Regions from separate parts of the Homo sapiens genome. Here all the other regions are linked to region 2. Evidence: promoter capture Hi-C in 16 types of primary human blood cells and fetal thymus (Javierre and others, 2016). All regions are on one chromosome and are shown on one strand. The core of a region is centred on a gene start or on the middle of the fragment in contact, and the rest is flanking DNA. Distances in the headings are between cores, read along the strand shown. Region 1 overlaps PRKCH (protein kinase C eta). Region 2 holds the start of PRKCH-AS2 (PRKCH antisense RNA 2). Region 3 has its middle 4.8 kb from the start of HIF1A-AS3. Region 4 overlaps PRKCH-AS1 (PRKCH antisense RNA 1). Region 5 overlaps PRKCH (protein kinase C eta). Region 6 overlaps HIF1A-AS1 (HIF1A antisense RNA 1). Region 7 overlaps PRKCH (protein kinase C eta).

Region 1 (3,653 bases), core at 964-3,463, 140 kb after region 2:
AGGAAAAGGGTTACCAACACAAGTGGCCTGGAAAACAAACTCTACTGTCTTGTTCATTTGAAACAAAGAGAGCAGAGAGATAAGGGGTTGCTGGAAATAAAATGGAAGTATAATGAAAACAGACACTGGAGCAATTAACTTTTCTATCAAAAAATTAAATCATTCTTGTTTTACCCAAACCTCAGTTCCATAGAGAGAATACCACATCACTATAATTTCAAGGAAAAAACAATAAAGCTTGAAAAAAATTAACAAACGAGTCAGCCTCTGTTTTTCAAGAACCTTGATTAGAAAAGGAGAATGCTAGTCAGTAAGCGAGTGCCATAGAAATGTGTCTCCTGAGGCTCTGTCCATGGATCTTGAGCTGTTTTTGAGGTTCAGCTTTTAGTGCTCACAGCACTGATCACTTGTTCAGAAGTATCGTGACTGCCTTGTTCTGCTCAAATCAAGCAAAGGTTTAGCATGAAGCTATCTGTAACAGGCAGCTCTAAAGTTAGAAACCACCACAGGCTTCTGAGTTGTTTTGGTGTCACTTCCTGACCTTATTTTTATGAGAACAGGCTTATAACAAAAACTGGCTGAAAAAGTACACTGCACAGCAGAAATAATCAGAAACAAAAAGAAAGTTTCAAAAAAATGACAATTCTGTCACCTGTATCACCTAACTGTACATATTTTTTTCTGATTATAACATACACAAATATGTGTCAGTTCCTTCTCCCTGTGGTCATTAAAATTTAAAGCACTGGGCTTTTGAAAGAATGTAAGAAAAAAATAACCTAGAAATTGTAAAATTTTTTGGTCCAAGTACCCCTTTGAATGGATTCTACTGATATTTGTCAAATTAGAAATTTAAATGGAGACATTTAAAAATATTTATCATTTATTAAAAACAATAACAATTCCATTACATGTTAGTATACACATTTTAATAAAATATAACTACATTTTCAAACATCCCCCCAAAGATAGAGAGAGTGGCATTATTTTACAATTTGCAAATCTCTTTAATGTCTGACTTAAAAGAAGACAGCTAGTGGGGAGGCGGGAGGGATAGCATTGGGAGATATACCTAATGCTAGAGGATGAGTTAGTGGGTGCAGCGCACCAGCATGGCACATGTATATATATGTAACTAACCTGCACATTGTGCACATGTACCCTAAAACTTAAAGTCTAATAATAATAAATAAAAATAAAATAAATAAATTAATTAATTAATTAAAAAAAAAGACAGCTAGATTCTTTCTTTTTTCTTTTTTTCTTTTTTTTTGAGACAGAGTTTCGCTCTGTCACCAGGCTGGAGTGCAGTGGCACAATATTGGCTCACTGCAACCTCTGACTCCCTGGTTCAAGTGATTCTCCTGCCTCAGCCTCCCGAGTAGCTGGGATTACAGGCACGCACCACCACACCCAGCTAATTTTTTTTTGTATTTTTAGTAGAGACGGGGTTTCACCATGTTGGCCAGGATGGTCTTGATCTCCTGACCTCGTGATCTGCCCGCCTCGGCCTCCCAAAGTGCTGGGATTACAGGCGTGAGCCACTGCGCCCAGCCTGACAGCTAGATTCTCATATCTGCTTCTGTATTCAAGCCACTGTAATGTTGTTCTAGTTGAAGTACATGAATACAGTCCAGCCTCACACAGAGTAATTTAAAAATATAATTTTAATAGATTTTTCAGATAATTGCAGATATTCTTCTTTAATACCACACAAAAGTAAACAAGGCGTAGTTTCTCAAAAGTTGGTTGCAATATAAAACTGTATCAATGAACTTTTCATACTTTAAATTAATATACATGAGTCTACCTTACGCTTTCAAGAGATCCTTGACCCATAAATGATTTTATAACATCTCGTACTGGCCATTGTGAAAATACGTGTTCACTGAATCATTGGAAGTCATCTTCTAAATGTTGACATATCTCATAACACAATTTTTAAAAATTACAATCGTTAATAACAACAAACTCATGAGAAAAGAATAAGTACTGGGAAGTTGTCAAGCTCACAATGGTGGATATAAACTTTCCAAAATTCGAATTATGTTTTGAAGGCTCTAATTTTATCACTGGCACCAAATACTTACAGTTGTTTTCCCTGAAGTAACAGGCGCAGTTCATTCGTTTTTTAGACAATGTCTGAAAAATCTGCCAGTTCCACAGTATGGTTTGTCTGTCATTCTTTCAAAGTAAAAATGGTGTTCCATGCAAAAAGTGGCTAGCTCAGCTAACAACTCAATCACACAAGTGCTTTTCCTTGAGACACAACAGTATTTCAGTATGAAGCAGGAATGCTTTTAGCATATTTCCCATTTTGTCACACAGAATGTTACAAAGGTATATAGTCAAGGATTGACCTTTAATAACATGAATAATGTTTACTGTTCCATCAAAGACATTCTTAAGTGAAACTAGATTTCTTCCTCCTGCAACTACGTGGCCATCAAGAATACAATGATGACTTTATAGTTTGGTGCCATGCTTTTACCCACCATTTCTCTTTTGCACCATTGGGGCAAATGTCAACACAGTGGGGAAAAAAGGATGAATAAAATCTTCGTATTATAAGGAAAACAGTTTGGAACTGCAGACTTCCTGAAAATGTCTCTGGAACTCTCAGAAGTCTGCAGGATCACACTTTGAGAATGAATTTTAAAATTTCCAACAAAGCCACCACCTAGTTTTTTCACTTACAGTCAGTCAAAATAAGAGAAGTAGGTACAGTGAAGCCAATGATGACTGGGGTATAAAAAGGCAAATAGAGCTATCATACCTATGCTGAACTCACTGATTGTATTTTCATCTTCTGAGTTCTAGCTTAAGATGTACATTAAGAGAACCTACTGACAACAAAACCTGAGCAAATCTTAAACTCAATCTGCCTAGAGCTTTCTGGCCCATCCATGCCTGATGTCTGAGAATGCTGCACCTTTCCTGGGTGAATGTTGGTCCTCCAGTTTAAGGAGGAGGAACTCAAGGGAAGCCTTGCAAAAAGACATCATCCCAAAAGACAAGACTCTCTGGAGGGTGGGATTATGCTATCCTGAGGACAGTTTTCCTCTAAGATGGAATAAAGAAAAAAACTAAAATGCTGCCCCCCCACCCCCAACTCCTCAGATAGCTGGATGGTGTAGAAAGATCTTGGACCTCAGCATTGCAATCTGAGCTTGTGTCTGGGCTCTGGCACTTACTATCCAGGAAAGACCATAGTAAATTAGCGTCTCTGAGTCTGGTTCACCATTTGCATACTGAGAATTACAACAGCCTCAGAAATTTGTTATAGAGAGAAAATGGAATAATATATAGCATGGTATGAACACGTAGAGGTACTCAGTTACTAGGTAAGAGTTTATCCTGCTACCAGAAAATAAAATGAGGGCTCCCATTGCTATTTGCTAAATTACAAGCCAACTCCAGTGTCTGGTCCTCAGAAGGCATTCAACAAATGAGCTAGATATTATGGAGAAGACGAGAGAGCATCTATGACAAGGGACAATTAGTCTCAATCCTTTAAAAACATCATTCGCCCGTTTCCAGTTCCTATTCTCCCATTCCCTCAATTCCTTTCTTTCTCTCCTACCCTGTCTTCAACCTGATAGCCACAATTGCTTAGACCAGCAAAAAACAAACACAAAAACTAAAGTGGTCAC
Region 2 (4,131 bases), core at 460-2,959:
GTTGGCCACTTTTCTTTATGCAGCGAAGATATCATAGCTCTAGATGAAAGGCTTTTCTTCAAGATGTTCCCCCCACCACTGCTGTTTCGAAGTAGGTTCAATGACTGAGATTCCATTGCTCCATAGACCAAAAACTAAAACGAGCGCTGCCACACAGCTAAGCGATGTGTGCATAGAGATTCTCTGTATTTCCATCAGTTGGGAAACTTCCTTAGTGCTGGGCTCCTATCAAAATATGCTGGGCTAAATCTGCTTTCACAAAATAGCCAGGAAAGGTGTTTTGATCACTTCCTGAGCAAGGATTAGTACAGGATAATTCACTTTTCATGGCCGGAGTGTGGTTCTCAATTTCAAAGACACTGAAGCTAATTTAATTTCCCATATTGAAAGAAAATTGCCTTGGATAAAAAGTTTTGTTTTTGTTTTTATTTAAATCAGGTTATCTTTAAATAGACTCATGACAGTCCCCAAGCACCTCTTTCCAAATCTGATTTGTGAACAACACAAAAGTAATGCTGTGTTTATAAAAATTGTTTTGGAGCTGAATTTACAGAGAAAATCTTGTTGAAGGTGCAGACACGGAAAGACAGTGTTTGGAGGTACCTCCCACTGCCATGCCAGGTGTCCAGAGGTGTCAAGCTGCCAGTGTTGATTCAAATGAAAATGATAATGTTGAAGAAGGAGGCTGCAAAAGTTCCTAAGCAACCTGACGGGATATACCTTGTAAAATGCTTTCAAAAAAGCTTCAAAGGGCAGCTAATAAATGAATATACTGACAGGGTTTAATCGCTTCTCCTCTCTCCTAGTAACAGGAATTAAAGGCCACAGGTGGTTCTGGGTTGGAGGCAGGACCCAAAAGTAAATGCAGCATTCAGAGCTGCACAGGCCCAGTCAGAGCAGCTGCCACTTCAGGCACTTACAGTGGTCACCCAGGATTCAGGAGATGCATATTATAAGTAACTCAGTTCTGTAAGAGCTAGGAGTTAGTTCACACTGCTTGGGCTCTCACTAAGTAAGCCTGTGCAATGCAGGCAGGAAGGGAGAAAATGCTTACAAAAAAGAAATGAGTAGATTCTTGCCTTAGGAAAGTCAACGGGATACAATTCCTGATGGAAGAGCAGTTGCTATTCTAAGAGCTAATTAACAAGAAACAATGCTGCAAAAAACTTGGGAGACAGGACGGCAGAACACACCCAGATGGCCTGTGGGAAATTCCCAGGCCTGCCAATGATGTGAGAGAGGACATCTTGTGAATGGGTGGGTACAGCCTGTTCTTCTGGGCAAGACAAACAGTGCAGGACTCTATATGCCAGGGTGGCTGAAGCCCCAGTGTCCAAGAGGCTTGCCCATTCCTCCCTGCCCCTGGCACTGAACCCAAGCTTCCATGGGGCACTGTGGAAGAGGCCTTGCCTGACGACAAGTAGACCAAACACGACCGTCCGTCCTCTAAAAACTGCACCCTTGGAATTGGGGACAGGCAGAATAACCCTTTCACTAGCTTGATACTTAGCCTCTTGGGGTTCTGATAAATCCTTTTGAATAACCAAGCAGTTTTGTTTTTAATACCTTGGCCTGAGCCCTTTAGATGCAGCCATCCTCAACTTACAAAAAAAACAAACCAAAAGAAAAAACAAAACACACACACACACAAACAAACTTTGATTCAATTGACAAAGGTTTTCAAGGTGTCTACTACATGTAAGGCAGCACACTAGGGGTTTCTTGGGGATACGCAGATGACAAAGACAGTGTCTCTTCATCCAGGAGCTAATCAAGAGAAGGGGGAAGAATCAAGCAAACTTCATAATACACAGCCGGATGAAATGAAAAGAGACTTAGATCAAGTGCTGTGAGAGCTTGGAAGAGGCACGGGGCAAATAACACTGGGGCTGGTGGTGGGAAGGCAAGTGACAGCCTCGTGGAAGAGGTGGCATTTGACCAGAGATGAGGACGAACAGAATTAACATAGTAGGCATGAAGGAAGAAAATGCGCCTGAGGACACAGCCAGCACAAATGCAGAGGCATACAAGTGCCTGGTACAGCTGGCATGCAGGGATGGCTGAGGAACTGCGGGGGCAGCCGGTGGGATCCATCCGAGGTGAGTGATGAGAGCTGCACGGCAATTTAGGGGATGACACTAGCCACAGCGTGATGAATAAATCTTAAATGCAGAGGTAGCGCCTGGTGGTGAGCAGTTAGAGGCTGAGACAATAGCTGAGAACACATGACAAGTTCAGCAACTAGGAGAGTTTCTAGTTAATTGGAAGGAAGAGTTGGAAGCACATTCTAGAGGGCCGTGGAAGAATAAACACAATCCACTAACTGCCGGGAATGGGAGTGAAGAGTCCAAGATCACAGGGTCCTCCCTGGCTGCCTGATGGGGCAGTGGTGTTGAGTAACAGAAATGGAACAAAAGAGGGGCAAGAGATTATTCTTTGTAGCATGAGTATTAGTAGCAGTGTTAGTAGTAGTAGTATTTTTGTTAGTGGAACAAAGACAAAAATAGCTCACACTTACTGAGATCCTACAGTCTGCCAAATCTGGGAGGCTGATGGGCTCCGCTTTGCATTGGAGGTGTGTGGGCACCCACATGCAGATGAATTCTAGGGTAAATCTGGGGTGCAGGCCAGGGCTGGCCATCTAACGCTCAGAGACATTGAAATTTGAGTAACCACTGAAGCTGGGAGGGCAGGTTAGATTGTGGAAAGTGACAGAGACAGACTAGAACTGATACCAGCCCTAGGTCTCAGACACATTTTATTTGGCCTACCTAGTGTGTTTTGAAATAATTTTAATTACTTCTCAAATATTTAAACGCTAGGAAATGTCACATCACATGAAAAGTCAGGTTTTCCAACTTCTCGTGGAAAATGAGATACTCGGGAACACTGGGCCTGCACTCCTCTCATAGAAACGGCCTGGAGTTGAGCAGGGGCTTCTGCTTTTCATGGGGCACCAGATGCCCAGTCAGTCACATGCCCCACCACTCCCTATCACCTCCCACCTGGCTGGTATCACTCACGGACTTTCATGGCTCCTGACCCCTGGTGTAGGGTGAGAAGCAGCCAGAGTGGCAGCTGGAGGATGCCATGAAGAGGCCAGAGGAGGATGAATACCATGAAACAGAAACCAGGACCGGGAGAAGGAGGGTCCGGGGTGATACTAAGGGGGTAGAAGCTTTGTGTGTTGTGGTGGTGGTGGGGTGGCCCTTCTACCACTACCCCCGTCCAGTGATGTGGAGATGAGGAGTTAAGGGAACATTTAACATTAGTCCCAGGCCTGAAATCTTTCACAGTTCACGTTGGTGCAGATGGTGTGGAGTTGGAGGTGGATAGCTTGCCATCCTAGGCTGGGCACAGGCCTTTCCCTAAACTCTCTGTTCCTACTGCTGTGAATGGTGACAGCATAATCCTTTTGCAGAAAACTTTCATTATTTGCTTATGTCCCTAATGGGACCCAAATGCCAGTAAGTTAACAATTGTGCTCCTCGGGGCCATCACTTTCATCCACATTTAAGGTCACACTGAAAAGTTGCCTCACCTCAGCTGACTTTCTCCCTGACTGTGATCCAAGAGGGAAAGTCGGCCAAAGAGGAAAATAATGTGACTTCATGAAATATTCTGCACACATTTACTAAAGGAAGCAGAATGTTTTCTAGGGCCAAGAAAAGCACTTTATAAGCTGCACAGAGTGAGTGAGGGGACCAGGGTGGAAAATCTGGATTCTACCCCAAGTGTAAGTCTCAAACTGACTGGAGAGCAGGGGAAAGAGAAGGGTCAAGAACTCAGGGACTCATTTTATGTTCCCCTTCCTGCTGTGGCCCTCATTACAGTGGAACTGAACTAGAGGATACTCAAGGAATCAGAGGCACACCTGGCCCCGAGAATGAGACACTTAACAGTTTTTTTCCCAGACTACAGAGGAGGTGTGGCTGCAGGGGAAAGCAAGCAGGCATGCTCCCTCCTGACGCTAGTTCTAAGGGGACATGTAAAGGATTTGGGCCAAGTTTGTATAGGAATGTCCTGGGAGGCCTCCTGCAAGCCAGGGAAGGCTGAAAGAACTAACAGCTTCTCTGACATGGAGGGCTGGTCAGGCTCTGCAGTGTCACTGCTTGTGTTTGTATCATTCTT
Region 3 (3,732 bases), core at 627-3,126, 210 kb before region 2:
CCTCAGAGACTGCAGCCTTGACCTTCCTTAGACCCTTCACCCTGGGATGATAGTGGTTTTACCAGTAATCTTTGTCTTTCCCCATCTCTCTGTCAAACTGTCTGCCTTTTAGTATCCACCCAGCTGTTAGAGTCCACTAATTGCTAGCTGATTGCTCTGTTGTTTTTGACAATGCCCTGGGGGAATAAATTACTCCATTGTCTAATCTGATTAAATTTAGGCTCCTTTGCAGAGGTAGTTTTTGAGTTCAATCTTGAGGTTTGCTCTGATCCCAGGAAGGCTCTTCTTAGCCATTTCTTCCCTAGCTTTTTCTGGTAAACTAGTGGTCTGCAGTTTAGCTTGTTGCTTTTAGAAGGTACTAGCCTCCTCTTAATTGCTTACAACCAAAATATCCATTGTTTTTAAGAGCACCTTTAGGTTCAAGTTTTCCCCTACTCCGTTCCAAATAAACTAATTTCTTCTGGGAAGAGCTTCAGAATTTTCTTTTCTTATGGATGTTTCTCCCCCTGAGCAAAATCTCTGAGCCACTGCTCCAGCCAGAGCTGAGGATGGGGACAGTCACTTTCTTCTCTCAGAGTAACTCTCCTTCATTTTTTTTTTTTTTTTTTTTTGAGATGGAGTTTCACTCTTGCTCCCCAGGCTGGAGTGCAGTGGCACGATCTCGGCTCACTGCAACCTCCACCTCCCGGATTCAAGTGATTGTCCTGCCTCAGCCTCCCAAGTAGCTGGGATTACAGGCACACGCCACCATGCCCAGCTAACTTTTTGTGTTTTTAGTAGAGACGGGGTTTCACCATGTTGGCCAGGCTGGTCTTGAACTCCTGACTTCAAGTGATCCGCCCACCTCGGCCTCCCAAAGTGCTGAGATTACAGGCGTGAGCCACCACGCCTGGCTGACTCTCCTGCTTTATAAGCAAGGCTCTGCAAGGGGGAAGTAGCTTCCATTCATTCTTCTCAGCTTGCCTGTCCTTGCTTGGAACTCGCACCCTATATGTGAGCTGCAATAAGGGCAACTGGGGCTCCACTACTCTCAGTCTGCTACACCTGGGATAGAGCCACTGCTCTGTGAATGCAGTCTGAAAGGAGGAAAGGAGTCCCCAGTCTTTCCATTCTCCAGGCCACACTCATCTGGAATTTAGCCTTTGCAACAGAACATGAGAGCGGGTAGAAATGCTGGCAGCTTGTCCCTCCAGGGAGATACACAATATGGTTTGGATGTTTGTCCCCTCCAAATCTCATGATAAAATGTGATTCCCAATGTTGGAGGTAGGGCCTGGTGGGAGGTGATTGGATCATGGAGGTGGATCCCTCACGAATGGTTTAGCACCATCCTTTTGGTGCTAAGTGAGTTCTTGTTCAGTTAGTTCACACAAGATCTGGTTGTTTAAAAGAGTCTGGGACGTCCTCTTTCTCTCTCTTGCTCCCTCTCTCACCATGAGATGTGCTGGCTCCCCCTTCACCTTCTGCCATAATTGGAAGCTCCTGAGGCCTCACTAGAAGCCAAGCAGATGCTGGTGCCATGCTTCCTATACAGGCTGCAGAACCATGAGCCAATTAAACCTCTTTTCTTTATAAATTACCAAGCCTCAGGTCCTTCTTTATAGCAACACACGAGTGGACTAACACAGAAAATTGGTACCAGGATTGAGGCATTGCTACAAAGATGTGGAAGTGGCTTTCAAACTGTAAACCAAAAGGTATCTAGAACAAATCTCAATCAATTTAGAAAGTTTATTTTGCCAAGGTTAAGGACACACTGGTGACACAGCCTCAGGAGGTCCTGAAGACATGTGCTGAAGGTGATTGGGTTGCTTTTGTACATTTTAAGGAGACATGAAACATCAATCAATATGTGTAAGATATACATTGGTTTGGTCCGATTAGGCAGGACAACTTCATTTAGAAGTTTTATTCCTAAATAAGACATTGTTCTCAGCTTGACTTTTCCCTTGGTTTAGTGATTTTGTGGTTCTGAGATTTATTTTCCTTTCATAGAGTAATGAGCACAGGAGTAATGAGCAGAGGCTGGAAGAGTTTGAAGGGCTCAGAAGACAGGAAGATGAGGGAAAGTTTGGAATTTCCTAAAGACTGGTTAAATGGTTGTGACCAAAATGCTCATAGTCCTCTACTGGGATTTGGGAGAAGAAGGAGCCCCATCTTCTTGGCCATACCCACCTGTGTGGAACTTTCCTCAAGGTGGGCAAGGTGGTAGAAGCAGCAAGTCATGTGAGGCATGAGTGGCATGTGAGGCATGAGTGGCATGTGAGGCATGAGTGGCATGTGAGGCATGAGTGGCATGTGAGGCATGAGTGGCATGTGAGGCATGAGTGGCATGTGAGGCATGAGTGGCATGTGAGGCATGAGTGGCATGTGAGGCATGAGTGGCATGTGAGGCATGAGTGGCATGTGAGGAGTGGCATGTGAGGCATGGTACTTGAGAGTACCTCTGACTAACTATTGCTGTTCTTACCAAGATGTAGTAGATTTTCTTGAATAAACAGTTCTTCATTTGCTGTATAACCTTTGGGCAGTTTCAATAAACTTTAAATGGTTGTTTTTAAAGTGCTTCACCAGTTACAGTTGTTTCATGGGGAGTGAGGCCACAGAGCTCTTTAAGCTGCCATTCTGCTAGGTATGCATTTAAAGGCATAACTCCTATCTTCAGGTTGCTCATCATTTAGTACAGAACAATTCACTTCAAGTACATAAGTACAATTTTAGTGTGATTAATACCGTGCAAGAGTTAAACACCACACAAAATGGGAACACTGAGGAGAATCTCCTAATCCAGTCCCTGAGAGGATAGGCTTTCTAAAGTAGAAATGAGTTGTGAAAAATGCAGGAAATTAAGGAGATGAAGATGAAATAAGAAGGGTGTTGCAGACACAGAGAGAAAGCAACTACAAAGGACAAAGAGGTCAGAGAGCGTGTTAGAAGGTTACATCACTGGGACACAGGACGCAAGGGAAAGAAGTTAGCAGAATTTGGACAAATAGGCAAGAGGTCTCAAGGCCTGGAATGCCTTGAGTTGGAAGATTTTTCTCCCTGGATTTCTCAGTGCTCCTGAACCGTTTGAGTAAAGGATAACTAGATATCAATCTTAAAGAAGAAAATTCGGAAGAGATCTAGAGACTTCTCTCACTTGGAACCATTTATTTACATTCCAAGGTGGTAAAGGAAAATTAAAGACCTGCCCTTTCTCTCTCACTATGATTATGTTATTTCTATATTTCAAATGTTCTCAATGGGAACAGTATAATGAATGTAAAACAGTAGTTGTCCTTGGAGGTGGAGTGCCAAAGGACTTTACTTCTTACATAATTCATTTCTGTATCTTTATAACATTTTACAAGGAATATGATTACTTTTGTTAACAGGAAAAAAGTAATTTTAAAATTTAGTAGCTATTGGCCGGGCACAGTGGCTCACTCTCGCCTATAATCCCAGCACTTTGGGAGGCCAAGGCAGGTGGCTCAGCAGAGGTCAGGAGTTTGAGACCAGCCTGGCCAACATAGTGAAACCCCATCTCTACTAAAAATACAAAAATTTGAGGCAGGAGAATCGCTTGAACACAGGAGACAGAGGGTGCAGTGAGCCGAGATCGTGCCACAGTACTCCATCCTGGGCGACACAGTGAGACTCAATTTCAAAAAAACCCACAAAAACCCAAAAACCAAAATAATGGGTACACTTGTGTGTGTGTGCGTGTATGTAGAGGTACAGCTGAAAAAA
Region 4 (4,142 bases), core at 915-3,414, 240 kb after region 2:
GTGTGTGTGTGTGTGTGTTTATTTTAAGCAATGCTTTTGGAGAAAGAAAAAAAGGACAGAGTTAACAAAATTGTACTATTGTAAGATTCTTACATTTCACATGAAGTAGTATAATATTAACTCTAAACAGACTGTTAAGGTTGTGCTGACTACTATGGTAGTCAGTAGCCACAAGTGACTAAATTTAAACTTAAATTAATTAAAAATAAATAAAATTTAAATTTCAGTCTTCAGTTGTACTAGCCATATTTCAAGGTATCAACAGTCACAGGTAGCCAGTGTCTACCATATTGGAAAGACATAGAACATTTTCACTACTAAAGAACATTTAGTTGGAGAATGCTGCCCTATAGCAACCATAAAAAAAAAAAAATACAGACATATAACTTTAAAATCAATAAATGAATTAGAATACTAAGAATATTGTATAAACCAAAATAAAGCCATGAAGGAGGAAATGAGAAACAAACAAAAAATGAGACAAGCAGAAAACAAATAGCAAGGTGATAGACTTAAATCCTACCAAATCAATAATTATATTAAATATAAATGAACTAAACAGTCCAAAGAAAAGAAAAAGATTGCAAGGATGAATAAAAAGCAAGATTCAAGTAAGAGCTTTGGCATGAGATGCAATGCATTTTAAAGATCCAGATAGGTTGAAAGTAAAAGGAAGGGAAAACATAGACCAAGCAAATCTAAGAAACCTGGTATTGATATACTATTATTATACAAAACAAACTTCAAGTCAAAAAGAATTATCAAAGTTGAAGAGTGACATTCCTTAATGAAAAATGGTCATTTCATCATGAAGACATAAAAAATATAAATGTTTATGTGACTAAAAAGCTTCAAGTATAAGAAGCAAGATATGAAAATTAAAGGAACAGGCCCAGCACAGTGGCTCATGCCTATAATCCCAGAACTTTGGGAGGCCAAGGTGGGAGGAATGCTCAAGCCCAGGAGTTCGAGACTAGCCTGGGCAACATAGTGAGATCCTGTCTCTACAAAAAAATTTTAAAATTAGGTGGGCATGGTGATAGACATCTGTAGCTGTAGCATCTGTAGCTACTCGAGAGGCTGGGGCAGGAGGATTGTTTGAACTCAGGAGGTCAAGGCTGCAATGAGCTGTGATCAGATCATGCCACTGCACTCCAGCCTGGATGACAGAGTGAGACCCTGTCTCAAAAAAAAAAAAAAAAAATTGAAGGAACAAATATACAAATCTGTAATCACAGTTGAACATTTTTAATTCACCTACATGTACTTTGTAGAACTAGACATAGATATGTGAATATAAATGATTTGAACACTATCAACCAACTTAACCTAATTGATAAATAGAGAATACTTCACCTAGTATCTGCAGAATAAACAACGATTTTCAAGTGCACATGGACTAGTTACCAAGATAGATCTCGTGCTGAAATATAAAATGTGGCTTAATAAATTTCAAAGGATTGAAAAATACAGAATATGCTCTCTAAACATAACAGAATGAAATTAGAAATCAATAACAATAAGATATCTTAAAACTCCCAAATATTTGGAAGTCCCACAACATAGTTCTAAATAACTGAGTTAAAGAAGAAATCACAGTAAATTTAAAAGATATTTTAGCCTGAATAATAATTTTAAAAATCAAAATTTGTGGATGTTCCATAGACAGCAGGTCTATGCAAACCTACCCCCCAAAATTAAGGTAGCTGAGATGTTGAAGAAAGAGGCTGACAAATCCGTTTTCTCAGAAAGAAACCTTTAATAGGAACTTAGGAACAGAAGCCATGTCTAGGGCAGCCATGAGATGAGATGGTGGATCCCCACACTTTCCCCCAACCCGGACCCAGGGCTTATATGCCATAAAGAAAGGCATGTAAGTCCTGCTTCAGAAGGACTGTGTAAAACAACTGAAGTGGACCCCTCTGGGAAAGGCAAGAATGCTATATGCTTCACAGCCTATAATTTGCTTAAGGCAGGATTTATGGTAAGTATTTGCTTACATTTTATGCCACAGATCACATAGTTATTAATAGAATAATAAGGAAATATTGTGCATAACATTATGCCAATAAATTCAACAACTTAGATAAATTGGACACATTTCTTGAAAAATACAACATGTAAAAATCTGACACAAGAAGAAACAGAAAATCTGAATAGCCCTGTCTCTGTTAAAGAAATAGAACAGGGAAAACTCTGTAGTGATAGAAACTAGGTCAGTGGTTGCCTATGTAGAATGTCAACTGAAAGAGAACATGAGAGAACTCTTGGGAATGATGAAAAAAATTCTATATCATAAACTTTTTGTGGTAGTTACAAGGGTGTATCATTTGGTAAATCCATAAAATTTTGCCTTTAAGATATGTACTTCTTTTTCAGACAGGATCTCATTCTGTCACCAAGGCTGGAATGCAATGGTGCAATCACAGCTCACTGCAGCCTTGAACTCCCAGACTCCAGTGATCCTCCCACCTCAGCCTCCTGAGTAGCTGGGACTACAGGCACACACTACCACACCCAGCTAATTTTGTATTTTTTGTAGAGAGAAGGTCTCACCATGTTGACCAGGCTGGTCTCCAATTCCTGAGCTCAAGCAATCCTCCTGCCTTAGCCTCCCAAAGTTTTGGGATTATAGGCATGAGCCTCAGTGCCTGAACAGATGTGTACATTTCACTGTATGCACACGTTACCTTGAGCATATAAGTTGCATGCCAAAAACTATGACATAAACACAAAATGTGAAACATTCTGACATTTTAAATCTTAAATATAATTGAAGTAAAAAAGTCCCCTGAGATATCTTAGGTACGATATATGCTAAAATGCAAAACATATCCTACAACTTTATTTGAAAAATGTTTATTTTCCTTCTGAATAAAAGTTCCAAAGTTCAAACCCAATCATATTTATTTCAGTGATGATAATAATGACTGTACTGATTCATCCTTCCAGATTTAGCTTGTGAACCTTCTTCAGTGTAATTTTTCTGGAACCACCATGATGAAGTAGAGTCATTGTCTGGGGTAAATACCTGAGGTTCCTTCTCTCAGCCAGGAAATCGAGGACATGGACACACGAGAAGTGGATTTAAGAGCAGAAGTTTAATAGGCGAAAGAAAGAGAAAAGAGAATCTCTCTCCTGCAGAGAGAGCGGGGCGCCTGAGTGGGTCTTCCGGTCCCATGGTGAAGTACACAGGTTTTATAGACTGGCTTGAGGAGGTGGTGTCTGATTTACATAGGGCCCAAAGATCGGTTGGACCAGGTGTGATGTTTACATAACAGGAGAAGAAGCTGACCACCCCACCCTAATCTTTTATTCTGCAAATGGATTTTCTACCTTGCCAGTGCCACGTTTTCTGTTCTTTACCATTCACAAGGTTGACAAAAGGGAAGATGGAACTGCCATGCTGAACATGCCTAGCCCCCAGGTAGCCTTTTCCTATTGTCACAGCTGCCAGCCATTCACCCGTGCAAGCTTGCAGCTTGCTTATCAGTCTGCAGCTCGATTTTTCAGCCTGCTTTTGTTAGAAAAGGAAGGATTTGGGGGCTACTTTTCATTAAAAGGAAAACCTTACCAAGGACTTCCTTACCCTCACTATCTGCCTAAATATTTCTCTTTAACTCCTATATCAATGACGATTTAAATTCTCCCTCTGTTCCCTTGTCTCCCAGTATACATCTCCCTTACAGCACCTGTATACTGTGTTCTGATGGTCTAAATATAGTTATTCTCCTCTACCCCACATTGTGATCTTTGAACATAAGACTGTGCTTTTATCTCATTTTCCCAGTGCCTGTCATATTGCCAGGCTTAGCAGGTGCTCAATAAATTCTGTTTCATCAAGTGCTTGAATGATAGTCATATGGAGATTCTTTCAGTCAGAATATACTATTGGTCTTGAGAAGATGATTTAAACATTTTTTCCTTTGAATTTGATTCCCTTCCTGTTACATGTTATCTAAGAAAACATATCCTACAGAAGTATTCCAAAACCCGAGAAAGAAAACACACAACAAAACAAAAAGATTAGATAGCAGATACTGAATGAAATGCTCAAAAATGCTCCAGTTCAATATTAAATGAAAAATAGAAAAGAGAAAGGAAAACTATATTATGAGATAAAGTGAAGTAGAGAAATGAGA
Region 5 (4,181 bases), core at 23-2,522, 170 kb after region 2:
TCTGTGCTGGAAGGCCTACCTGATACCTCCTCTGTGAATGAGGACAGAGGCTCTGAAGAGACCAAGCCCAGCCCATCAGGTCCAAAGCTTCTGGTGCTCCTAATGGACCAAAAGGAGTGGGGTGAGTTCTCCTGAAGAAGTCAAATGTCCTCTCTGGAAACCAGGAGAGGACTCTTGGTATAGCACCAGGATGCCAGGCAAGACTCTGCTCTCCAGAACTAAGAAGGGGTTGGCTGCAGTGGCTCACACCTGAAATCCCAACACTTTGGGAGGCCAAGGCACACCTGAAATCCCAACACTTTGGGAGGCCAAGGCAGGAGGATCACTTGAGTCCAGGAGTTCAAGATTAGTCTGCGCAACACAGGGAGATCTCATCTCTATAAAAAATAAAAAATAGCCAGGTGTGGTGGCATGCACCTGTAGTCCCAGCTGCTTGGGAGGTTGAGGTGGGAGGATCACTTGAGCCTGGGAGGTCAAGGCTGCAATGAACCACGATTCCAACACTGCACCCCGGAGAGCCCAGGTGACAAAGTGAAACCCCATAATAAAACAAAACAAAACAAAACAAAAAAGAACTAAGAAGGTACTTTTCTTCTCCTCTGATAAGACGTCCCTAGGGACCTCATGGCAAAGGAGACCCTGGAGTAAGAAAGAGGAACCACAGAAGAGTAATTGTGCATCCCCTCCACACCGTGTGTCCCCTACATGAAAGAACACATCAAAAAAGCACTTTCCACATGAGCTCGCCACTCCTCGTTTCTGCTAAGTAGACCCTTCCAGAAAGGGAGCATACGTTCTCCTTACTAGGAAGAGGTACTAAACAGAAGTGACAGGTGTGACCCTGGCTGGAGATGGGGAATATACTCCCTGCAGCCTCACAGCCCCCTTCTTTCTTTCACACCTCTCTGGGTTGCCTAGAGACAGTGGTCATCGGCCCCACAAGTGAGCCTCCTTCTTTGCAGGGGAACCCCCACAAGAAAGGAAAAATGTCTTAACACACTGAAGATACCAGGTTAAAAACAAGATATAAACTAACCGAGAATAATTCTACATTGTTGATTCTCATCATCCATTGTAATGGAGGAAGAAGGCAAAAGCTCCAGCAAAACCAAAACAAGAACTCAAAACTACATATTTAGCATACATAAGCATTTCAAGATGTTTTAGAGACTTGTTTGCTTAATTATTCATTGCTCAGTCTGCAGGGAAACTTTGGAAGACTCTGAATCTGAGGAGGCATTAGAAAATAGATGAAGCCTATATCTCTATCCCAACAGTTATTCTATGATAACACCTTTACTCCTCTTGGTCTTCTGGAGGGAAGGAGACGAAAGCTCCACAAAAGAGGGAACGTTTGTACAATGCCTAGAAATTCAGGTGATGGTTTTCCAAGTGGACCTGGGGAGGGGGGGCATCTACACAGAGACGGGGAGTGTGCAAATGCACAGAAGATGTATAGGGGTTACAGATGATCAAATGTAAGCTGTGTAAATGAGACAAGTCAGAAATAGGACTGCAGAGGAAAGTGCATCCAATCAATAATGGCCTCACGACATGCTGGCAGGCTGGTCCTTATCCCAGGGCAATGGGGAGCCACTGAGGGGTTTCAATCAGGAAAGTTACAAGGTCATACCTACATGTCAGATCCCGATACATAACTGTTGGGATTATAAGAGGAGAGAAGCTGGTGGTGGGAATTCATGTTCAAGGCAAGTCCAATGGTCTGAGTGAAAGACAGTGGTGACCTGAGCTAAGGCAGCAGTAGAAGGGATGGAGAGGAGAGGGCAGATAGGAGAAAGACATAGGAGGGAGCAGCAGCTGGACTTTTCGTAACTGATGCAGGTAGGGTGGAGGTGAAAGAGAAGGAGTCAGAATCACAAGGCAATGATGATCCCTGGTGCCATTAACTGAGACAGGGACTCCAAGGGGGAAGCAGAACTGGAGGAAAGACAAAGAGTTCAATGTATGACCTTTACCTATGACATCTGAGCATCTACTGGGCTGTCCTTAACAGCTTCTGAAAATTCAGATGGAGAGGGAGGAACACCACAAATTACAACCCAATGCGGTCTCAACTGAATAGGTCAGTGGCAACATCAAAAGCACTATTCAGTGCTGGGTGTGGCGGCTCACATCTGTAATCTCAGTATTTTGGGAGGCCAAGATAGGAAGATCACTTGAGGCCAGAGCTCCAGAACAGCCTAAGCAACAAAATAAGACCCCATCTCTATAAAAAAAATTAGCCAGATGTGGTGGTACATGCTTGTAATCCCAGCTACTTGGGAGGCTGAAACAGGAGGATCACCTGAGCCCTGGAGTTGGAGGCTGCAGTGATCACACCACTTCATTCCAGCCTAAGTGACAGAGAGAGATGCTGTCTCAAAAAAAAAAAAAGAAAAAGAAAAAGAAAAAAAAAGCCCTAGGAGAGGAGCAATCACTGGGCTAGGGCGAAGCTTTACCTGGGAAGTGAGACCCTGAATTGAGGCCTGAAGGCAAGTTTCAATTAGTGGGAAGTGAGACCATTCTGAGTCAGGAGCAACCTGTGAGAAGTGATAGAACTAATATCAGAACACACACTTGATCAGTGTCATTGGAGGAATGTCCATACAGGAGTAAGAGAGAAGGCTGGAGGCAAAACACAGAAAGAGCTACACCCAGAGAACTGTAACCTTAGATTGCAGGCCAAGGGGAGCCACTAGAGGTTTTTGATTATGTAAAATGATAGAGATTAACATGTAAAAGGAAGATTTTGTCTACTAGATGAATGAATAGACAGACAGCTATGGTCTAGAAGTATGAATGGTTTGCTAAGGGTGAAATCAGTGAAAATTAATAATCATGTGAAGAGAGCAAACAAAAGCAGTGGAAAGGCCAAAGGAGTATGGAGTTTGGGGCCTGGGTATCCTAGATCAGGGTCAGCAAACAGCAGCCCAAAGGCCAATGCCAGCTGCTGCCTATTTTGATAAGTAAAGTTTTACTGAAACACAGTCACAACCCTTTAGTTACATATTATCTACAAGATGAGTAGCTGTGATTGAGACCTTATGGCCCATGAAGACAAAAATATTACTCTCTGGCCCTTTACAGAAAGATCTGCCCATCTCTGTTGCCACTAATCAGCCAGGGAACTCAGGGAAAGAACATGTTTTAAAGGGAAAGAAATGAGTTTAAATTTGGACACAAAAGTACTCAAATAGAAATATCTGGCAAGATGTTGGAAATAAAGACAAATCATGTAGTTAAACATACGGCTGGGGTTATCATTTGGGAATTTTTCTCAAAAGGTAAACACTAAGTCTAAGAGCAGTGAAATTTTTCAAGAAAGAGCACAGGAAAAGAAGAAAAGAAAAAGCAAATTCACTAAAGGAGTGAAAGAAAGAACCAGAGAAAATACAATCTGAGAGGTGGGAGGAGTCCCCAAGTTTAGCATCATGGGACATGGAAACAAGCAGCTTCAAAAGAGAGGAGAAGCCAAATGTGCAGATATGGAAGATGAGGTCTTTAAAGGGGAGATGACAGTAGATGACCTGGGAGATGACAGGTAGACTTCTTCCATGATACCCACCCCATCATTAGCAATTCTGTTGGAAAGGTCATCCTTACATTAAGCTAAAGACAATCTATATCCCCATAACTTCCACCTGCAAATTTCATTACACCTCTAAAATTTACCCTGCCAACATGGGGAAAGAGACAGATGTGGAAAACAGCACAGAAGCTGCAAGGAATACATGGTTTAATTAAATTGTATCTCATTTAAGTGAATTAGAAGGTAAAGCTAGAAATTAGAAGGTAAAGCTAGAAATGCAATGGACGAAAGGTTTGGATGCCAAGTTAAGAACTGAAATTTCATTTCAAATAATTAGGCTAGCAACAGTCCTAAAACAACATGCTGGAGGACAAACTAGAGGGGTGTAGATGGGGCTGGAGGTGCTGGGCAGAATTAAGAGACTGTCTCAGTGGTACAAGTGTGCAGTGGAGGAGGCAGGAGAGAAGTATTACAAAAGAAGCTCAGCAGGACTTGGTGGCTAAGGATAAGGGATGATGAAAAGCCCAAAGGCAGCTGTAGTATCTGGAAGACGGTAAGACTAAATCTGCAAGAAGTAAGGCAATCTAGAGGGTCAGTTGGTTTGGGATGACTCTGGTTTTTAAAAATACTGATTTGTAGGGAGATTAGAAAT
Region 6 (3,674 bases), core at 757-3,256, 140 kb before region 2:
TATAGCAAAGTTGCAGGATACAAGGTTAATGTACAAGAGTCTATTTCTTTCCTGTATACAGCAAGGAACAGTTGGAATTTGAGTTAAAAACACAATACCAGCCGGGCATGGTGGCTCACGCCTGTAATCTCAGCACTTTGGGAGGCCGAGACGGGTGGATCACCTGACGTTAGGAGTTTGAAACCAGCCTGGCCAACGTGGTGAAACCCCGTCTCTACTAAAAACAAATACAAAAATCAGCCGGGTATGGTGGCGGGCACCTGTAATTCCAGCTACTCGGGAGGCTGAGGCAGAAGAATTGCTTGAACGTGGGAGGCGGAGGTTTCACTGAGCCGCAATCGCATCACTGCACTCCACCCTGGACGACAAGAGCAAGACTCTGTCTCAAAAAAAAAAAAAATTACCATTTACATTAGCACTAAAATATTGAAATACTTAGGTATAAATCTAAGAAAATATGTATAAGATCTATATGAGGGAAACTACAAAACTCGAATGAAAGAAAACAAAGGAATCTAAATAAATGGAGAAATAGTTCATGTTCATGGAAAGGAAAATTCAATATTAACAGGTCAGTTCTTTTTCCAGTTGATCTATAGATTTAATACAATCCAAATCAAAACCCCAGCAACTTAGTTTGTGGATATCAACCAGCTGATTCTAATGTTTACATGGAAAGGCAAAACCAAATAGCCAGTATGGTATTGAAGAAGAACAAATTTACAGGACTGACACTACTACTACTTCAAGGCTATAATATAAACATACAGTAATCAAGACAGTGTAGTACTGGCAAAAGTACAGACAAATAGATCAGTGGAACAGAATTTAGAGCCCAGAAATAAGCCCACACAACAATAGCCACCAAAAATAGCCATTCGTTTTTGACAGAGGAGCAAAGGCAATTCAATAAAGAAAGAATAATTTTTTTTAGCAAATACTGATGGAACAACTAGATATTCACACGCAAAGAAAATTAACTTTAGACTCTCACCTTATTACACCTATCACAAAAATTAACTCAGAATGGATTCTAGACCTAAATGGAAAATGGAAAACTATAAAGTTTCTGGAAAATGACATAGGAAAAATTCTAGGTTGACCTTAGGTTTGGCAATGAATTTTTAGATACAACACCAAAAGTATAATTCATGAAAGAAAAAATTGCTAAGTTGGACTTCATTAAATTTAGAAAACCTTTTCTCTGCAAAAGACAATGCTAAGAGAATGAAAAGACAAGCCACACATTGGGAGAAAATATTTGCAAAACACATGTCTGATAAAGGACTTGTATCAAAAATATACAAACAACTCTTAAAACTCAACAAAAGGAAAATAAATAACCAAGTTAAAAAGTGGGCATAAGATCTGAACAAACCTTACTAAAGACATACAGATGACAGACAAGCATATGTAAAGATGCTCTACATCATATGTCATTAGGGAATTGCAAATTTTAAATAACAATGAGATACCACTACACTCTTAAACTACTAAAATCCAAAACACTGATAATACCATATGCTGGTGAGCATGTGGAGCAACTGGAACTCTCTTTTATTGCTGGTGAAATGCAAAATGGTATAGCCACTTTGAAAGACAGTTTGTTAGTGTATTACAACACTAAACATAGTCTTACCATACAATCCAGCAATTGCACTCCTTGTTATTTGCCTGCATGAGTTGAAAACTCATATGTTACCTAACAAATGTTATAGCAACTTTATTCATAATTGCCAAAAATTGTAGACAATCAAGAATTGCTAATAGGTGAATGGATAACAAATTGTGCTGTATCTATATGATGAAATATTATTCAGCAATAAACAGAAATGAGCTATCAAGCCACCAAAAGACTTGGAGGAAATTTAGATGCTTATTGCTAAGTGAAAGAAGCCAATCCAAAAAGCCTATATATTGTATGACTCCAACTCTACAGCGTTCTGGAAAAGGCAAAACTATGGAGCTAGTAAAAAGATCAGTGGCTGCTAGAGATTAACAGGAAGAGGGGAGGGATGCATAGGTGGAACATAGGGGATTTTTTAGGACAGTGAAACTATTCTGTATGGTACTCAAATGGTAGATACGTGACATTATGCATTAGGCAAAACCCATATAACTATACAACATTAAGGGAGAACCTTAATACAAACTATAGACTTTAGTTAATAATCATGTATCAATATTGGTTCATAAGTTGTAACAAGTGTCCCAAACTGATGCAAGATGTCAATAATACGGAAAACCATGAGTCTGGGGGTGGTGAGGAAAGGGAGAGTATATGGGAATTCTCTGTACCTTCTGTTCAATTTTTCTTTAAACCTAAAACTGCTCTAAGAAATAAAGTCTATTAATTAAAAGGAAAAAAACTAATACTTTTTTTTTTTTTTTGAGATGGAGTCTCGCTCCGTCACCAGGCTGGAGTGCAGTGGTGCGATCTCGGCTCACTGCAACCTCCACCTCCCGGGTTCAAGCGATTCTCCTGCCTCAGCCTCCCAAATAGCTGGGACTACAGGTGCGTGCCACCATGCCCAGCTAATTTTTTTGTATTAGTAGAGACGGGGTTTCACCATGTTGGCCAGAATGGTCTCTATCTCTTGTTGGCCAGGATGCTCTCTATCTCTTGACCTGGTGATCCACCCGCCTTGGCCTCCCAAAATGCTGGGATCACAGGCGTCAGCCACTGAGCCACTGCTCCTGGCCTGAATACCTTTTTTAAAATTAATCCAAGGCCACTTTCAAAATGAATATCCCCCTTTTTTTCTTAACCAAAGTCACGTTTTCCTATCTTTCTGAATGAAGCAAAAGGGTTGATGTGTAAGAATAAACCTTAATAAAACATCCCATTCACTATATTCTGACTAGAAAGGAAAATGATATTTGGTATTTCTCCAACATCAAAGTCAATTGGAAGATTCTTAAAAGCCACAGTTCCATAAGATATTACATTTCTAGAAAAAGAAGACATAACAAAGAACAGAGTTGCATTTTTGAAAATTAATGGTAATAGTCTCCCCTGATTCAGACACTTACAGGATTTCAATATATTTCTTCACTCATAAAATTAATTTTAAATTGTTAAAATGATCAGTTTCAATAGCTGAAGAGTAAATAGCGTAGCTAGCTGTAAGTTGGTATATTAATAAACAGAAAAGGATAGGCATGGTGGCTCCTGCTTGTAATCCCAGCACGTTGGGAGGTCAAGGTGGGAGGATTGCTTGAGCCCAGGAGTTTGAAGTCAGTCTGGGCAACATAGTGCGACCCCATCTCTATAAAAAAATTTTAAAAATTAGTCAGGCATGGTAGTGTGTGCCTGTAGTTTCACCTATATGGGAGGTTGAGGCAGGAGGATTGCTTGATCCTAGGAGTTTGAGGCTGCAGTGAGCCATGCTCATGCCACTTCACTCCAGCCTGGGTGACAGAGTGAGACACTGCCTCAAAATAAATAAATAAATTACCAGGAGAAGGATATTTATTAAGATTCTGCTTTGCAGGGCCGGGCGCGGTGGCTCACGGCTGTAATCCCAGCACTTTGGGAGGCCGAGGCGGGTGGATCACGAGGTCAAGAGTTCAAGACAAGCCTGGCTAACATAGTGAAACCCCGTCTCTACTAAAAATACAAAAATTAGCTGGGCATGGTGGCGTGTGCCTGGAATCCCAGCTACTTGGGAGGC
Region 7 (3,621 bases), core at 521-3,020, 200 kb after region 2:
AATACAGCTTTTGTAAAACAACCATGAACATAAGAGTGAACACAGACTTGGACATACCAGCATTTCTTTTTTTTTTATTTTCTGAGATGGAGTCTCGTTCTGTTGCCCAGGCTGGAGGGCAGTGGCATGATCTCAGCTTACTGCAGCCTCCGCCTCCCAGGTTCAAGCAATTATCCTGCCTCAGCCTCCTGAGTAGCTGGGATTACAGGTGTACACTTCCATGCCCGGCTAATTTTTGTATTTTTAGTAGAGACAGGGTTTCACCATGTTGGCCAGGCTGGTCTCGAACTCCTGACCTTGTAATCCACCCACCTCGGCCTCCCAAAGTTCTGGGATTACAGGTGTGAGCAACCTCGAACAGCATTTCTAAGGTGACAAGCATTCCTCCCCATTTCCTACCAAAAGAGTCAAAAAGGTGTCATCTGGCATGCCCTGCAGACAGCAGCTGTACCCCTAGCACCAAAGAACTGGGTTTGAACTCAGACTCTTCCTTTCCCTTTTATTGGTTGTATGTTCCTAGAAATTATCTAATCTCTCAGAACCTTGATTTCCTCATCTGTAAAATGGGGCACAATATCTACCTCAACAGGACTGATGGAAGATAAACTGGAATAACAAATGTTAAGGATTGGTACATAGTAGGTACTCAATAAATGTGAGGTAGGGAGCATAAGATAGTGGAAGATCTGTCATCAAGTCCAAGACATGCCCCTAAAGTGATCTCAACTGAAATGGAAACAATGATCTACTTGCTTCCAAGAATTACTATGTGAGGGGCAAAGCAGAAAATGCATACAAAAGGAAACAAGATAAACACATGAACCCTGGAAAGGGATAAACAAATAAACATCTACTTAGAGGTCTCAAGTGCATACTTTTAAGAGCATAAACGGATAGCCATCATCATTTTATCAAATTCTCTGGATGATTCCATTTAACTCGAATCCCTTCTCCAGCAGGGAACACTTCTGTGTCATTCAGGCAACAAACACTGACAAGTACAACAAATACTAAGAGAGTGCTTCCTGTGTGCCAAGTGCTGTGCTGGAAGCAGAGGCTGCTGGTGGGCTGCAGATCTTGCCCTCATGGTGCTTACAGTCTAGGAGGGTGACTCACTGATTATAAATATGTGCAAGTGCCGCAAGGCAGAGTGCCAGTGGCTACGAAGGCATAAAATAGTGGGGGTGGAAAGATGGAGGGAGACCTTAACTGAGCCTGGAGGACTCCTAATAAAGGTGATATTAACAAATGGCTACCCATAGTGGCTTTTGGTGACTGTGACAGGAGAGAAGGAAGCGGAACAGGTCACAGAAATTACATACCAAGGTGGGTGTAAACCCAGCTCAGCATGGCTAACTAAAATTAAGAATGCAAGTAATAAAAGTTCTGCCATTCACTGCACCCAATAAAGAACTGAAGAAGCTTCCCTCCATCTAAACACAGTCTAAACAGAAAAGTGGCTTATTTCATCCCAGCCCAAGCATCAGAGGTGGAGGCAAAGCTTCTGTTTCCCCAAGCAAACTTTGTCAGTTTTGCCAGACCACCTGTTTTTCCAGACACCACACACGGTTCAAATGGCTCATGGTTTTCATCCACGAGCTTTTTCCTTCTATTCATTCAAAATCCACTTCATGGCCACACACCCCCAGAGCATTTTAAAACTGGGTGCACCACTGACGACTCATGTGGAACATATGGGCAATCAGTCCTCTCTCTGGCCCCCTGCTCTCTGGCTGTGACAGACCACAGGGAGCAACACCCTCCCCGGAAAACACCAACTGTACTCATCTGTCTGGAGTTTGTACATTTGGGAAGTTGTACAAAGAGACCGGTGCTGATAAAACTGGAAGGCTGACCATCAAATAAATAGATCTAAACCCTTACCAGAAAGAAGGAAGGAAAGGAACCGGGGCATTCCTCTGTGGGTTTCCACAGCTCTCTTGGCACCCAGAAGAATCAGCTTGGAGAAACCAGTGAGATACTCTCCTCCCTGGGCCTATTAACTTCCTCTCCTCACCCCACTGCCTCCGCCAAGCTTGTTAAAGTGCTATTTAATTCCGTTCCCTGAAAACTCTGGGTCTTCTCTTCCTTCCTATTTTGGCAAAGGTGGTTGCATCCTCCCTCACTGACCGAATGAAGTCAATGCTCATGGTGTAAAACAGTTTTAATGTGTGACACCTCACATCTGCCAATACAAATTATTAATGAGGTTCATTACTAGTTATATTAGGCTTTAGTGTGTAAAAAAGAGAGAGGCATCATTAGCCAAATTCTGATGAAAAGGACCCAGCAGCTCCAAGGGGCCTACATTAAGTGTCTTGTCTCACACAGCCTCTACTTAATACGGGCCACTACTTAGGAGTAATTGAATCAAAGCTAGAACACAAACCTCCACAAAATTGGGATTAGGAAATAAACTACAGATGTTCCAATTGCCTTAGGCCCAGAAACACCACAGTTAAGCCCAGCAAGGCAGGAGTTACTCCAACTGACCACACCTGGGTATGGGTACCAATGCCCAGAGAAAGCAGATGAAGGCAGGTAAAGGAGGAACGAAAGCATGAATAGACCTGCAGTGACACTGTCCATGGAGACTTGAAGATAATCAGAAAAAAATTATCAGCACATCCAAACTGCTTTAAACTGCAATACCTCAACCCCACAACTCCAGGGAAAACAATTAAATAAAAATTAATTGCATTTTAAAAAAGTAATTCAATCAATATTCCCTCCTTTAGCTTGGCACAAACCAAACCACCTTAAATAAGCAGAGTTATGACAGTCTCTCCTGAATTTTCACTTCACAGTTTTAGGAATATCTATTCTGGATTTCTTTCCCCACCAGTCCCCACCCGTCAACTTGCAATTTCAAAGGGACTCAAAGAAACAACTGAATCACCGGTGAACAGATTACAAAGCAAGGGGCAGCAGACAAGCCAAAGTAAACATACGGTAAAATTCCTAAGCCATTCCTAAACAATGCTTGTGAGGACATCAACATCATTAGCTAATGAGGGAATGAAAAGATGGATGTGAAAAACTATAATGCTTTGGAAAAATAACTCCTTTAAATGTTCATTACTATAATGGCTGTTTGGTTGAAGTCCAGGACTGCAGGTCGACTTTAAATCAAGTCCACATTAAACAGAATGGGCTCGCAAAACACAGGCAGAAAGATGTGAAGCATTTGCCCATGCTTGCTTTGATCATGGAAGCTTTATTCCTTTACAGAATTCTGCATTAACACCATAGTACACACATACATGAAAATCTGTGTGCCCTAGAAGTGTTTATGTATCTGTTTCCCCTATAAGACAAGCTCCTTGAGGGCAGGGAAACTATCTTTTTATTTCTGCACATCCCATGTGTTGCATAACCCCAGACACGTAATAATTGCTCCAATGAAATGTTAAACTTATTGGCAAAATAACAGTTAATTTTGAAAAAATCAAAAGGGAAAATAAGACCATTGGTGTAGGCCACAGCCTTAAGAACTGGGAAATGACACACTATCTCAAGTTACTGTTTGCAGAACGTACAACATGATGCAGCATGCTTGTGCTGATAAATTCAGTTGTGACTTTACCTAGGAATTCACTGTTAGGAGTAAAGAGGATAAAA

The links. Contacts are between HindIII fragments. The CHiCAGO score rates a contact against its expected background, and 5 or more counts as called.
Region 1: a fragment that was not itself captured here is called in contact with the fragment with the promoter of PRKCH-AS2 in region 2 in 1 of 17 cell types (activated CD4 T cells); the score reaches 9.0 in activated CD4 T cells.
Region 3: a fragment that was not itself captured here is called in contact with the fragment with the promoter of PRKCH-AS2 in region 2 in 12 of 17 cell types (neutrophils, activated CD4 T cells, naive CD8 T cells and 9 more); the score reaches 31.7 in neutrophils.
Region 4: a fragment that was not itself captured here is called in contact with the fragment with the promoter of PRKCH-AS2 in region 2 in 6 of 17 cell types (total CD8 T cells, total CD4 T cells, non-activated CD4 T cells and 3 more); the score reaches 9.6 in total CD8 T cells.
Region 5: a contact is called between a fragment that was not itself captured here and the fragment with the promoter of PRKCH-AS2 in region 2, in 1 of 17 cell types (activated CD4 T cells). The highest score is 5.3, in activated CD4 T cells.
Region 6: a fragment that was not itself captured here is called in contact with the fragment with the promoter of PRKCH-AS2 in region 2 in 13 of 17 cell types (neutrophils, activated CD4 T cells, naive CD8 T cells and 10 more); the score reaches 32.1 in neutrophils.
Region 7: a fragment that was not itself captured here is called in contact with the fragment with the promoter of PRKCH-AS2 in region 2 in 1 of 17 cell types (activated CD4 T cells); the score reaches 7.9 in activated CD4 T cells.

Annotation. Positions count from the first base shown.
Region 1 is chr14:61,400,418-61,404,070 of GRCh38, reverse strand. The region is part of intron 2 of PRKCH (protein kinase C eta); the gene reads right to left. Among named protein-coding and RNA genes, the nearest start is that of PRKCH-AS1, 79 kb to the right of the region's middle. The HindIII fragment of the contact is 3,947 bases long and covers 240-3,653 here.
Region 2 is chr14:61,543,062-61,547,192 of GRCh38, reverse strand. PRKCH-AS2 (PRKCH antisense RNA 2) reads left to right here and starts at 1,709. Exons shown (of 3, transcript NR_188139.1): 1 at 1,709-2,099. The region is part of intron 12 of PRKCH (protein kinase C eta); the gene reads right to left. The HindIII fragment of the contact is 1,799 bases long and covers 1,382-3,180 here.
Region 3 is chr14:61,754,014-61,757,745 of GRCh38, reverse strand. No RefSeq gene overlaps it. Among named protein-coding and RNA genes, the nearest start is that of HIF1A-AS3, 4.8 kb to the right of the region's middle. RefSeq lists enhancers at 578-1,163, 1,866-2,365, 1,562-2,761, 2,366-2,867. The HindIII fragment of the contact is 3,776 bases long and covers 1-3,732 here.
Region 4 is chr14:61,300,075-61,304,216 of GRCh38, reverse strand. It overlaps PRKCH-AS1 (PRKCH antisense RNA 1), which reads left to right. Exons shown (of 5, transcript NR_186042.1): 3 at 2,953-3,427. It also overlaps a transcript of PRKCH not described here. Among named protein-coding and RNA genes, the nearest start is that of PRKCH, 19 kb to the left of the region's middle. The HindIII fragment of the contact is 2,625 bases long and covers 852-3,476 here.
Region 5 is chr14:61,376,438-61,380,618 of GRCh38, reverse strand. All of the region lies in intron 1 of PRKCH (protein kinase C eta), which reads right to left. Among named protein-coding and RNA genes, the nearest start is that of PRKCH-AS1, 56 kb to the right of the region's middle. The HindIII fragment of the contact is 2,366 bases long and covers 90-2,455 here.
Region 6 is chr14:61,685,026-61,688,699 of GRCh38, reverse strand. All of the region lies in intron 1 of HIF1A-AS1 (HIF1A antisense RNA 1), which reads left to right. Among named protein-coding and RNA genes, the nearest start is that of HIF1A, 8.6 kb to the left of the region's middle. The HindIII fragment of the contact is 7,656 bases long and covers 1-3,674 here.
Region 7 is chr14:61,346,323-61,349,943 of GRCh38, reverse strand. The region is part of intron 1 of PRKCH (protein kinase C eta); the gene reads right to left. Among named protein-coding and RNA genes, the nearest start is that of PRKCH-AS1, 25 kb to the right of the region's middle. The HindIII fragment of the contact is 534 bases long and covers 1,504-2,037 here.